Regions from separate parts of the Homo sapiens genome. Here region 2 is linked to region 1. The links are contacts of gene promoters, found by promoter capture Hi-C in human tissues and cell types (Jung and others, 2019). All regions are on one chromosome and are shown on one strand. Each heading gives the region's core, a stretch centred on a gene start or on the middle of the fragment in contact. The rest is flanking DNA. Distances are from core to core; before and after follow the strand shown.

What was found. The method cuts DNA at HindIII sites, captures the fragments that hold promoters and counts their contacts. A contact is called where the count stands out against the background at its distance.
Region 2: a contact is called between a fragment that was not itself captured here and the fragment with the promoter of CLMP in region 1, in 1 of the 25 tissues and cell types used here (IMR-90 fibroblasts).

The regions. Positions count from the first base shown.
Region 1 is chr11:123,192,234-123,198,357 of GRCh38, forward strand. CLMP (CXADR like cell adhesion molecule) reads right to left here and starts at 3,015. Exons shown (of 7, transcript NM_024769.5): 1 at 2,680-3,015. The coding sequence starts at 2,707. The HindIII fragment of the contact is 11,250 bases long and covers 1-6,124 here.
Region 2 is chr11:122,801,441-122,807,564 of GRCh38, forward strand. It overlaps UBASH3B (ubiquitin associated and SH3 domain containing B), which reads left to right. Exons shown (of 14, transcript NM_032873.5): 12 at 4,970-5,076. Among named protein-coding and RNA genes, the nearest start is that of CRTAM, 34 kb to the right of the region's middle. RefSeq lists enhancers at 1,830-2,572, 3,376-3,894. The HindIII fragment of the contact is 4,850 bases long and covers 100-4,949 here.

The sequences.
Region 1 (6,124 bases), core at 1,765-4,264:
TTTGATGTCAGAATGAAGTGTTTATACTCAACACTAAAAGCAATGAGACTACTAAAGGTTTTTGGAAGAAGGGAGAAAAACCATAGAATTATAGAAATTTTGAATTGAACATTCCCCTACCCCTATGCCCATTGTACAGACAAGGGAGTCAGAATAAGAACCAGAGAGGTTGCCAGACTCTTAAGTTCCAGCTTCGTGCATTCTACCAGCGGCCTCACAGGGTTACTCGGGTAGCAGTGTGCAGGATGGAGGAGAGAGGACAGGCAGGACAGGAACGTGGCAGCTACTATAGTCATCCAGGAGAGAAGTTAAGGTGGCACAATGAGGGCCGGAACGTTACGGGAGTGAGGCAGGATAGTGGGTCAGAAGAGGGGCTGAGCTGGAGCTCCTTCTCTCTTCTCCATGGGGCTCAGAGCACTTCTTATTCATTCACATCAGAGAGGTGGGTTATTTGACCTCACTCATTGGCAGGTCCAGGAAACATGGAGTCAACTGTCCCACAGTTCAGACGATGAACACTCTCCACCCTCCCAGCCCCTGTTTGATACTGTGCAATCTTTAGAAAAAGAGAAGCCAAAAACCATGCCAGCCAGGATCAGAAGCAGCCCTGGAACTGCCCCTTTAAAGGACCAGTATGATGATTTCAGGATTCAGACAACTTGCTGTGTTTTCTTTCTGCCTTTGCTGAACAGTGTCCGAGCATTCCATGGCTCCAAACCATTTCTTAAATAAGGACAGGTGCTCAAAAAGTGCAAATTTTTTTTCCCTTTCCCAGACCTCTCTCCTATAGGTCACGCTGACATCTTACATTCCATGAAGAGGATGGTGAGATCGAAGAGCCAGCCAGGTGTGGCAGAGGGTAAGCGCTTTGAGAATCTCTGCAGCCACAGGAGGCTGTAAAGCAATGCGCTTTAGCAAGCTTTCTCTGGAAGCAGGCAGCCTGCGCTCAAATTCCGTCTCCCCTAATTATGAGTGTGTGGCCTTGAGCAAGTTACCTGGCCTTTTTACAGCTTGGTTTCTTCATCTGTAAAATGAGGGTAGCCAACAAGGATGGCTGGGCAGCCAATAGGCTTGTTGTGAAGAACAAACGAATTACCAAGATAGTACATATAAAGTGTTCATATAACAAGGACTATTAGCTGTTTTTAATAAGAGAGCCCTGAAGTTTCATTCTACTAAATATCTGGTGATTGGTAACCTAGTGGTAGAGTCCAGTAAAGGGAATCAAGGTGCCATCCAGCTGCGCCAGATGTGCACAGGAACAGTATTGCAGTATTTGGTTAAGTCTAAAAGAGTTTAGAAAATAACCCCTCCCCACCTGCCTTACTTGAGCAATAGTTTGGCTTAGCCCACCTCTTTCATTTCTCTAACTTAAGTGATTATCAGCCTGAGGCTGGCCAAGATGGGTATGCATACAGTATAATTGGTTTGTAAAGTTTCAAAAAAGACAGAGAACTCTAACCACGTATTTCAGGATTTGGTGGTTCTTCTAGACACCAGCCTCCTTCAAACCTCTGGTGTTGTAGGCTAGAAGGGACTTAGGAACCATCTAGTATTCTCTTTCCAGAGCTAAAGACGTGGAAGCCCTGGATAAGGAGTAAGTTGTCTGAGGCCACCCAGCTAGTCAGTTCAAAACCAGGACCAGCTCTCCCGTGGCCTGGTGTTCAGGGTAGTGCTCACTCTTGACCACTGGCTGGCTCTTTGATTTTCTGATCTCCAGCTAACTGTGGGGCCTGTCTGCAGTGGATCCCATGCTTCAGGGTGCATAGTGACGTGCCCTTGGCTCTCCCTGACTGCCTTTCCTGCCCTGGCTCCTCAGACATTTCCAGTCACTCCGGTGGGCTCCTACCACCCACATCCCTGATGTCCTCTCCTGCAAACCTGCCTCTGCCTCAGGGCCTCTGAGGCCCCAAGAGTCCTGCCTGGGGGACCCCAGGAAGGGACGCTCAGGAGGACTCTTCCCTTTGCTCTGGAGCCTGTTTCAGGAAAAAGTGGTGCTTGCTCTATTTCCCTCTGTTCTGGTTCCTCTGCTGCGTTTTTTCCAAGTCTTCTTCACTCTCTGTGCTCGGACTCCCCCAGCCTTGCTCTTCTGTTTTACATTCCTGTTCTCCTCTTTTTCTCTCTCCTTCCCAACCCTTCCCCTTTCCCCTTTTCCTTCCTTCCCTGTGTGACTTGGGGCATTTGCATCTTCCTGGTGCTCCTTGGGCCCTGCCCTTTTTCCCTCTCCCCTTTCCTCTCCAACCCTGCCTATCCCCCACTCTGCTCACCCTTTAACACATCTGTTTCTAATCTGAGCCTCGGAGGCGCCTGTTTGAAACAACAACAAAAAACCCCCACCCTCAGGAACCTGGCACAAAAATTCCTGGATAAACCTTCCCTCCACCAATTCTCCACTTTTCCCAGATACACCAGAAACTAAACACCGCCCTAAAGAGGACCCTGCACATCAAACGGTTCCCCAAGCCTGTTCAAGGGCCCAGATGTGCGAGACAATCTCGATGGCCGACTGGGCGGCCCTCGGTTGCCAGATGTGCTCCTCCGTGGCCAGGAGGCAGGGACTGAAAAGCCGGCTGACTCCAGGGGCTGCAGGGACACCCGGTCAGAACCGGCGTCTTTCCCGGACGCAGGGCTGCGTTTGCCCACGGCCATCCAAACTCCCGCCCTCCCAGAGGCACTCACCTAGCAAGAGGAGAAGGAGGAGGGACATCCCGATCCCCGGACGCGGGCGCTTCCCCGCTCAGCTGCTGCTTGGCTCCGGGGCGGCCGGGCGCCTCCGACGGACCTCGGGCGAGCTGGGCGCGGCGCCTCGGGGTGCGCGCGAGGTGGCTGCAGCCATGTGCCGGGCGGGAGCCGGCCCCGCGCCCCGTGCCCCTGGGGGCAGATGGGCTCCCGGCGCTCGCCCCACCAGCTGGCGCCCGGACGGGAGCCGGGACCAGGGTCAGGGAGGAAAACGCGAGGCGAAAAGGCGCTACCGCTTCGTGGAACACTTTTCCCTGTTTGGAAAGAAAAAGGAGTGAAGAAAGAGAGAGGGAAAAAAAAAATTCAGCTGGAACCACATGGTTGCCTCCTACCGCAGCCCCTCCCTCTCTCTCTCGCTGTTCCCTCCTTCCCTCCCTCCCTCCCGCGCGGCGTTTGGGGTTTGCGGTGGGGGCCGGTCGGGGAGAAGCGTGAGCTGGCCGGGCAGGGAGGGCCGGGGGAGACCTGGGGCCGTGCAGAGGCGGGTGGGTTGAGAGGCGCCGGGCGTAGGATTGATTCTTTGCAGGAGGCATTGGTGACACCTCGGCTGAGAGCCCATGGACGAGGCCTTGTCCGTTCCTAGAGCTCTGCTCTCACTTGGTCCTTCTCTCCACTTCTCTCTCGCTTCTTTTTTACTCTCGTTTCTCTCTGCTTCCACGTCTCTCACAAATCTGGCGTTTCTCTCTTCCATCTCTTCCTCTCTAGGTCTCCTTGTTCGCATTCTTGCCTCTCCCTCCTCGTCTCCTCATGCCCTCTCCCCTCTGTCCTCTGCGCTCTTCTCGCCTCTCCTCTCCCTCCCCGTCTGGTTCTGTTAGTGTAAAGCCACCAGACTGACCAGGCCGACGGCGGGGCGCGGAAGTGGGTGCGAAGGCAGCCAGCGGCCGGCCGACCAGGGCTCTCCCCACCGACTGCCTGCTTTGGCACCCGGCTACCCCCCTTGGCCTGGCTTTCCTGGGGCCTTTCGCGTTCGCTCGCTTTCTACTGTCGGTATTTGCAGCAGCGCTCCCTCAGGTCCCGAGCAGAGCTAAGCCAGCCAGCACCCAGGGGAAGGGGACCCACAGCCCCGTGGAAAGAGGTCTATCGAGATGCTTTGCAGCAAAGTGCTCTGCACGTGGCCCTGGCCAAAATGTGCACCACCCCCTTTCAGAAAGAACATAAGGCAGAGGGAGCAGAATCCCCCTGGTGCCAGGGCCTGCGCGCCCGGGCTCCGGGAACCCGGCCCAGGAGGCTCGCGGAGGGCAGGAGGCTGGCGGCCGGACGGGGGCGGACGGTGGGTTCCGCGGAGCCGAGCAGCCCCGCCCCAGGGTCGGCCCCTGGGAGTCTGCCCTTCACTACCCTGCTGCTCAGCGGCAGCGGGAGGCAGCGAGACTAAGAAAGGGCAGTGAGGGTGGCGCTCAGACCTCAGCTGCCTGGACCTCCTGCCCTGACCTTGTGCCCAGGGCCTCTCAGAAACTCTGGTCCCAGTCTCTGAATGTCCCTGGAGGGCTTCTCCCTCAGCTGCCCAGAGGCATGATGACGCAATCGCTCACCTTCGGCCTCGCCAGAGCCCAGGTTGGAAGCCGGGGCCAGCGCTCTTGAGAAGAAAGATGAACCCCGCCGGGGCCGGTGGGCTGCCGAGTCACACATTTGCAATGAAATGCAAATGTGTAATGAAAACCCGTCCCATTTCGCAGACTAGGAAAGCAAAGGCCTGGAGAGGTTATGGAAGTTTCACAAGGTCACTCAGAGGACTTGCAAAAGCTGGGGCTGTTCCTAGGGCTCGCGGATCAGCTGGAGCATTGCTTTAGAATTGCAGCATTTCTCCACTCACTCCCTCACCCCTTCGATACCGATGTGTTAGCATCCACACTATGCCAGGTGCTTTTTTAGGTGTGAGGACACAAAGTGAGTAGAACTTGGAAGTTGACATTTAAAAAAACCTGGGAGGAGTATGTCATGAACACCAAGTATGGACCCAGAATCATATTATATTATTACGTGGTTTTTATTGGGTCATATTATTGACCTTTTTATATCATTCTTATTATACTGCTAAGGGATAGTCACTGAAAAAAAAATCACCATCCCTTAGCATGAATAGGAAGACAAGGAAACTATAACTTAGAGAGGCCTAAATATCTTGCCCCAGATCACAATAGAATTAAAATGCTTCTATTCCAATATTAATATTCTAATATTTAAAAATATTATTTTTTATATTGAGAAGTGTTTAAAAGGTCTCTTTGACTCCGAAGTAACTTTATTTTCCATTTCATACTAATTGTCTAATAGGGGAAATAGATACATTCACAACTATAATTTGTAAATGAATATGTTGAAAAAACCGTCTTTTTTCTTTTCTTTTTTTTTTTTTGAGACAGAGCCTCACTCTGTCACCCAGGTTCACTGCAACCTCTGCCTCCTGGGTGCAAGTGATCCTCCCACCTCATCCTTCCAAGTAGCTGAGACTACAGGCTCACACCATCATGCCCGGCTAATATTTGTATTTTTGGTAGAGATTGGGTTTCGCTGTATTGCCCAGGCTGGTCTCAAACTCCTGGGCTCAAGCAGTTCACCTGACTCGAACTCCCAAAATGCTGGGATTACGGGCATGAGCCACCATCCCCAGCCAAAAACAGTAATTCTTAAAGGCTGGAGAAGGTGGCAGAAAAACTACATACAGAAGGTAACTCTTTTGTTGTTTCTGCTTTATAATTAAAAAAAAAATTGACATTTTGGGCTTACAAAAAAGTTGAAAATAGTACAAAAATTCTTCACCCAGATTCCCCCTTTTTATTTCTCTCTAGAGGTGGGGTTTTTGCACAAGTTTTAAAGCCTCACCTCCACCCCACCGCTGCTGGTGGCCTTTCTCAAGAACTTAGTAATGCCAGTGCTGTTTATTGCTTGAGGGCTGGTGTGCGCATGAAGACAGATGTGTGTGGGTGTAGGCAGATATGTGTTTAAACCCAGTTGCTCAAGCCGAAGGTAACAGGCGCCTTTGGCTCTAGGTCATTAGTCACCAGCACAGGAAATGATTAGACTGAGATTGGGTCACAAGCACTCAATTTTCCCAGCCCCAAGTCTTGTAGCCAATATGGCACATATTTTTTGGAAGAGGATCTTTGGGTCCCTGAAGGTGTCTGTCTCTAAATCTGAAACCTCTTTTCTATTGGCATGGGTCTCTGGGCAGGAAGAGCAGAGAGAGAGTGCTTCTGCGATGGTTTGTAACTCACATCCCATCCCTACCAGTGCTGGGCCCCACTCTGGGCTGGGTGCCTCGGAGGATCCCAAGATTACGAGATAGTCCTTACCCTGAATGGACGGACCTCTCAGTTCAGAGGGAGAAAAAACACCAACATGGGAAATGTTTCAACAACAATACAAGAAAGTTAGATAGTTAAATGCCACA
Region 2 (6,124 bases), core at 1,275-3,774, 390 kb before region 1:
TTGTCCATAGTGGTGGAAAACGAGCTATGATTTTAGAAATCAAAACTGGAGAAAAGCCAGCATTTTTTTCATATTTGGCATTAGTGTGGATTAGATTCTCCAGCCTCACCCCCGTGTTGGATTTTTCTGACTTTATTATACCTGTTTCAGTGTAATAAAACCATTTTGCATTCCAGCAATAAGCACGAGCTAATGATGATGCAGTTGAGAAGATTGGAGCGATAAGGGAGATGATGATGTCTTGTCTTACAGTTTCTACGTTTAATTTTTCAAAGCATTTTTAAATCTCTGTATTATCTTTGTTTATTATTGCTATATCCCCAGAATGTAGGTAAACCATTTTTATGTATGAGAGAGTTCAAATAACTTGCCTAAAGGTATTTATACATTTAGTGACCACACATAACAATAATAATAATAAACTTTATTCATCATTTTCCACATGTCCAGCACCATGCAATCTGCTGTACAGTCATCTCATTCCTGTTCCTTTCCTTTTTCCATTAGACCCGACTGTGCTGGGATTTTAAAAAGTGTTTGTTGATTGCTTACAGGTGAATAATCTGCATGTATACAATTAAGAATTAATAATAGGGCTGGGCACGGTGGCTCACGCCTATAATCCCAGCACTCTGGGAGGCCGAGGCAGGTGGATCGTGAGGTCAGGAGATCAAGACCAGCCTGTCCAACATGGTGAAACCCCGTCTCTACTAAAAATACAAAAATTAGCTGGGCGTGGTGGCACACGCCTGTAGTCCCAGCTACTAAGGAGGCTGAGGCAGGAGAATCGCTTGAACCCAGGAGGCGGAGGTTGCAGTGAGCCAAGATTATGCCACTGCACTCCAGCCTGGTGACAGAGTGAGACTCTGTCTGAAAAAAAAAAAAAAAAAAAAAAAGAATTAATAATAATATAGTTACCTTAACTATCAAAAGTCTACTCAGGTATTTGTAAAAATCTCTTTGAGAAGGAACAGATAGTCACAACCATTATAATGGGGAATTAAGTTCATATTTCTTAAGGCAGAGTTTGTAACAAGTGGTCAATATAAGCAGAACTTTCTTATGTGATATCTGTTGACCTTTCATTTTAAATACCTACCCAAACCACATTAAAGCAATGTGCATTTCTGGCTAAGGTAATAGACAATATATTCTTTTTCCATACTCATTTTTTCTGTTCAGCAAATAAGACCTCGGATAACCCCATTAACTAGTTATGTGCTGCTGCTGCTGCTTGTCTTAAAGGAATTAGCATTCCTCAAAAACAAAATTAGATCAATCAACAGGATCCCCTATGAATACACTTCACATTTTGTTCTATCCCCTCTCTGGCCACTGGTTTTCTGTTCTTTGCAGGGAATTAGCAATAAATTGTTGTCCCCCATGCAGCAGCCAGCATCCCTTTGGCCTGGAAAGAGGAGGAGTTGCCACCAACATTGGTTAAGTGACTTTCACCATTTACCACCAGCCCCACCCAGACCAATTTAGGTCAACTATGTATTTTATATTTCCTCTAGATGTGTTTTGCCATTGCCTCCCAAGCGGCCTTACAAAGGTCTCCAGAATCGTCCTACCTGAGCCTGTCAATGTACACTCAGATACACACCCCACCAGCAGTGTGAGCAGAAGGATGAATGCCAGGAGCCTGGGGATCAGGACACAGTCCTTATTCCAGATTGCCTTTTCCTCTCCGGCAAATCAGAATTCAATTCAACCATTTTCTGTTTGGCGAGGGAGTTGGGGTAGGAGATGAAGCCTCTAATTTGAAAAATCAGTTGAGAAAGCCAAAGTTGAAGCATGTGAAAGGGACAGCCCCGGAGTTTAATTCCCTATGAAATTAATGATGCCAAATGGACAAGCCTTTGGAAGCAAGGAAGTGGTGCCCAGATGATTGAAGACATGTGGTGACAGGCAGAAAGGGAAGCCCTGAGAGCCGGGGTAGTGTGAATCAGGCAGGCTCTGCTGAAAGAGCCCTCTCACCTTGCAACAGGGGTAGGAAGAGAACAGGAGGGAGGTGGGACTGAAAGCCGAGTTAGGGAAGCTAACCAGGCTGGTGACTAATATTGAAGCATCATCCACAGGCAGCAAGACCAGCCCAGGGCCTGGGGGGGTTGAAAACAACCCCAGCCTTGAGGAGCTGGGCCAGAGGAGCAAGGCAGAAAAAACAAAATCCACACCAGCTGGGTGGGGCTTCAGAACAGAGCCCTGACTCAGAGGACAGGGGACTGGGGGAGGGTATGGATCTGGAGTGTTGGAGGGGAAACAAATCAAACTTTGGCATGAGGCTCAAAGCAGAGGCCTGTGCTTACAACCTGGACCACAGCAAGGTGGGGAGCAGAGAGTATATGGGGGAGGATACAGTTTCGGGGATGCCACCTGACTTCCAGAGCACCGTATTCCAGGTTGAGTGGGTGGGGGGAAGGCCACCTGACTCTGAGGACAGTACAGGGCCTGCAGGTGTGGCTAGCAGCATGACGTGACCTGCTGACAAGGGTGAGGAAGCTTTGACTCAGGCCAAGCCCATCAGGACTCCAGACACTGGAGTCATTCACAGGCTCCACTTTAAGGTGCTGGGAGAAGCCATAGGCAAGAACTGATCAGGACGAACCAGATCCCAGCATGTATCCCGCTCTTCACCTACATAAATCTCACACATTACATGGTCTCACACTTGAAATGACTCCCTGGGCCATACAAAGTGGACTTTTGTCACTGTGGGCAGGGGATGGGCCTGGGAGATGAGGTGACATAAATGGTGATGGAACTGGGTGAGAGGTGGGGATGGGGACAGAAAAAGAGGAGAAAGCTTGCTCCAGAACAATGAGGTACAGCCCCAACAAGTGGTGATTCAGGTCTCTACCTATCCCCCAGGGTGTTGTGAGACTCAGAAGGCTGTTTCCTAGGAGAAACAGGCATGCTGAGAGAATGCAGGATATGGGCAAGTTTCCTTCAAGTGGAACGGCATCCTTCCCCTGGACAGTAAGCCGGTGTGCACAGAAGGCCAGGCTTAGCAAGGGCACTGTCAGAAGCTGTGTGTAGAGGATCGGCTCACAGGCCAGACTCCAGACTCAGATTCAAATCCAGATTCTAAGAGTTGCTAACGGTGTTAGCATAGGGAAGTCAGCTGCAGCCTTTCTGAGCTTCTGTTTTGTCATCCATAAACAGCATTTATGAAAGCATTGCTGGGAGGATTAGACCGAAGAAATGCAAGCAGGACACTCGCACAGAGCCTGACACATATGGGAACCTCAGTAAATATTTTCAGTGCTAATAGTAGTGGTAATAGCCTACTTCTGATCAAGAGGCCATGTGAATTCATTTTGAGAACTTACCACACCTCCACCAGGCACTAAACACCCAGCAGTGAAAGACAAAATATGAAAATTGACAAAATAAGAAAATTGAAATGACATAGTTGTACCCAGAAAACAAGATAAACATCTTGTGGACCAGAAACAACATAGAAACTCTACATAGTTAAGCGGGGGTGGAGGCAGGCAGAGGCAGGCCCCAAGGGCATTGGTGACTGGGTTTGAAGACATGCAGGGGCACCGGGACAGGAAGCCTAGCTTTGATCATCCTCTTCCATGCTGTGTTAGTTCGTTTTCACGCTGCTGACAAAGACATACCTGGGACTGGGCAATTTACAAAAGAAAGAGGTTTAACTGGACTTATAGTTACATGTGACTGGGGAAGCCTCACAATCATGGCGGAAGGCAAGGAGAAGCAAGTCACGTCTTAACATGGATTGCAGCAGGCAAAGAGAGAGCTTGTGCAGGGAACTCCCCTTTTTAAAACGGTCAGATTGGCTGGGTGCAGTGGCTCATGCCTGTAATCCCAGCACTTTGGGAGGCCGAGGTGGGCGGATCATCTGAGGTCAGGAGTTCAAGACCAGCCTGGCCAACATGGTGAAACCCTGTCTCTACTAAAAACAATACAAAATTAGCCGGGTGTGGTGGCGCATGCCTCTAATCCCAGCTACTTGGGAGGCTGAGGCAGGAGAATTGCTTGAACTCAGGAGGCGGAGGTTGCAGTGAGTCGAGATCGAGCCATTGCACTCCGGCCTGGGCAACAAGAGTGAAACTCAATCTCAAAAATAAAACAACAACAACAACAAAAAACAAATAACAAAAAATAAATAAATAAAAATTTTAAAAAATAAACCATCAGATCTTGTGAGACTTATTCACTATCACGAGAACAGCACAGGAAAGACCTGCCCCCATGATTCAATTATCTCCCACCAAGTCCCTCCCACAACATGTGGAAATTCAGGATGAGATTTGGGTGGGGGGCACAGCCAGGCCCCCAGGCCGGTGAGGGACACACAGTATCACATGCCTTTGTAGATTGTATAGTAATTATCATTTACATCAATAACCTCTTCACCCCAACCACAGGCAGAGAACTTTTCCAACACAGAAATTGAGTGGTCTTCATCTTTATGCTTTGCACTTCTCCTTGTGCCAAGTGTATGGTCTGTGTTCAAAATAAGAGAGAATTAAAGGAAAAGACTGGTGAAATTTGATAAACTCGCAAAGAATCAGATGGACCTAATATCTGCGTTTAAAACCCATCCTTGCTGCTCTTGAAGAGAGGTCTGGGAAATCCCTGCTGATCTAAATAGGTTGAGGGTTCCATCTCTGCTTTGTTTTGTATTAGCTATGTGACTAGGACCATCCATCAATGGCTTATTTGTTATCCCGAGAGTGAAACATGCACTGAATGTCTCATTTTTCACCTGGTCACTGTAACGCCATACACATAGCTGTTATTTCTGTACATTTCCACTCCATGTTCATATAGTAGAAATGCTGTTCCCTATACCTTTCTCCTTTCTAGGGAAATGGATAAACAAACAGATCTACGGGATCTTTAGAAATGCCTTGAAATAAAAGTTTAGAGTGATATCTTCCTTTGTCTCAAGATCAAAATGTTTTCATTTCCTTTGTTCATTTTTCTATTACAGACCTCACATTCCAATCAGCAAATTAGTTGTTTCAGAATCCTATGATACTTATATCAGTAGAAGTTTCCAAGTAACAAAAGAAATAATAAGTGAATGTAAAAGTAAAGGTAAGTGGTATTATTCTGAACTCCATCTGTACATACGTGATTATTTCTCTATAATGGTTAATAGGTTATTCAAGATGTTTCAACTTGCTTTGGCTAACCAAAGAAATGTATTTCCAGATTTTCTTCCAGATACTTTTACATTAAATTTGTAATATTCTCTGAGTTCCTAAAATGGTAGATATTCCAGGGGTTTATACCAGACTTAGTTACTATTCTTAATAACTTAAATTCTGCGTTATAGCTATTCTTCTTGCACCCTGTGAAAGAGATTCCCTCTTATAATTTCCAAAAGCTCTAGCATGCCACTGTTTTGCCTATAATTGATGCAGCGGCATGCACACCTACACACAGCACACCTACACAAACACATACACCTTCCCTGCTATCACCAACCAAGAGCAGTGTTGTATAAGGCTCAAGTGTGTTTGCTATTGAATTTTCTAAACACTGAGCTCAAATATTTAATATGTAAGACTGTTCACTATCAATTTTTTAGTGAAAAAGGCATATTGCAAAAAAAGTATGGACATTCCCTTCATCTCTTTTTTTAAGTTAAAATACTTATATTCAAACAGTAGGCAGCCATGAGCAACAGTATTATGAATGATTCCCACCTTCCAGTTTTCATTGATTAGCCACTCACTACCATAAAGGTACACAACATGTTCTATCAACCAGGAAGTCTCAAGTGCTCATAGTTCTATAGTGGGAACACTTAAAACTATGTTAGAAGGAGTTGCACAGACAGCCCTATGGACACACAACAGTCCTGTATCTTGATTGTCATGGTGTTACAAAAAGCTACACATATGATAGAATTGCATGAACTGTATCGTCACATATGCACAAACGACTTCTTGCACACCTGCTAAAATCTGAATACGCTGTGTGTATTGTACCAGCGTCCATTTCCTGGGTTTGATACTGTACCATAGTTATGTAAGATGTTACCATTGGAGGGGGATGGGATGAAGGGTTCATGGGATCTTGTCGGTATGTATGTATATGTATGTAACCCTCCCATAAATCCATAATTATTATTATTATT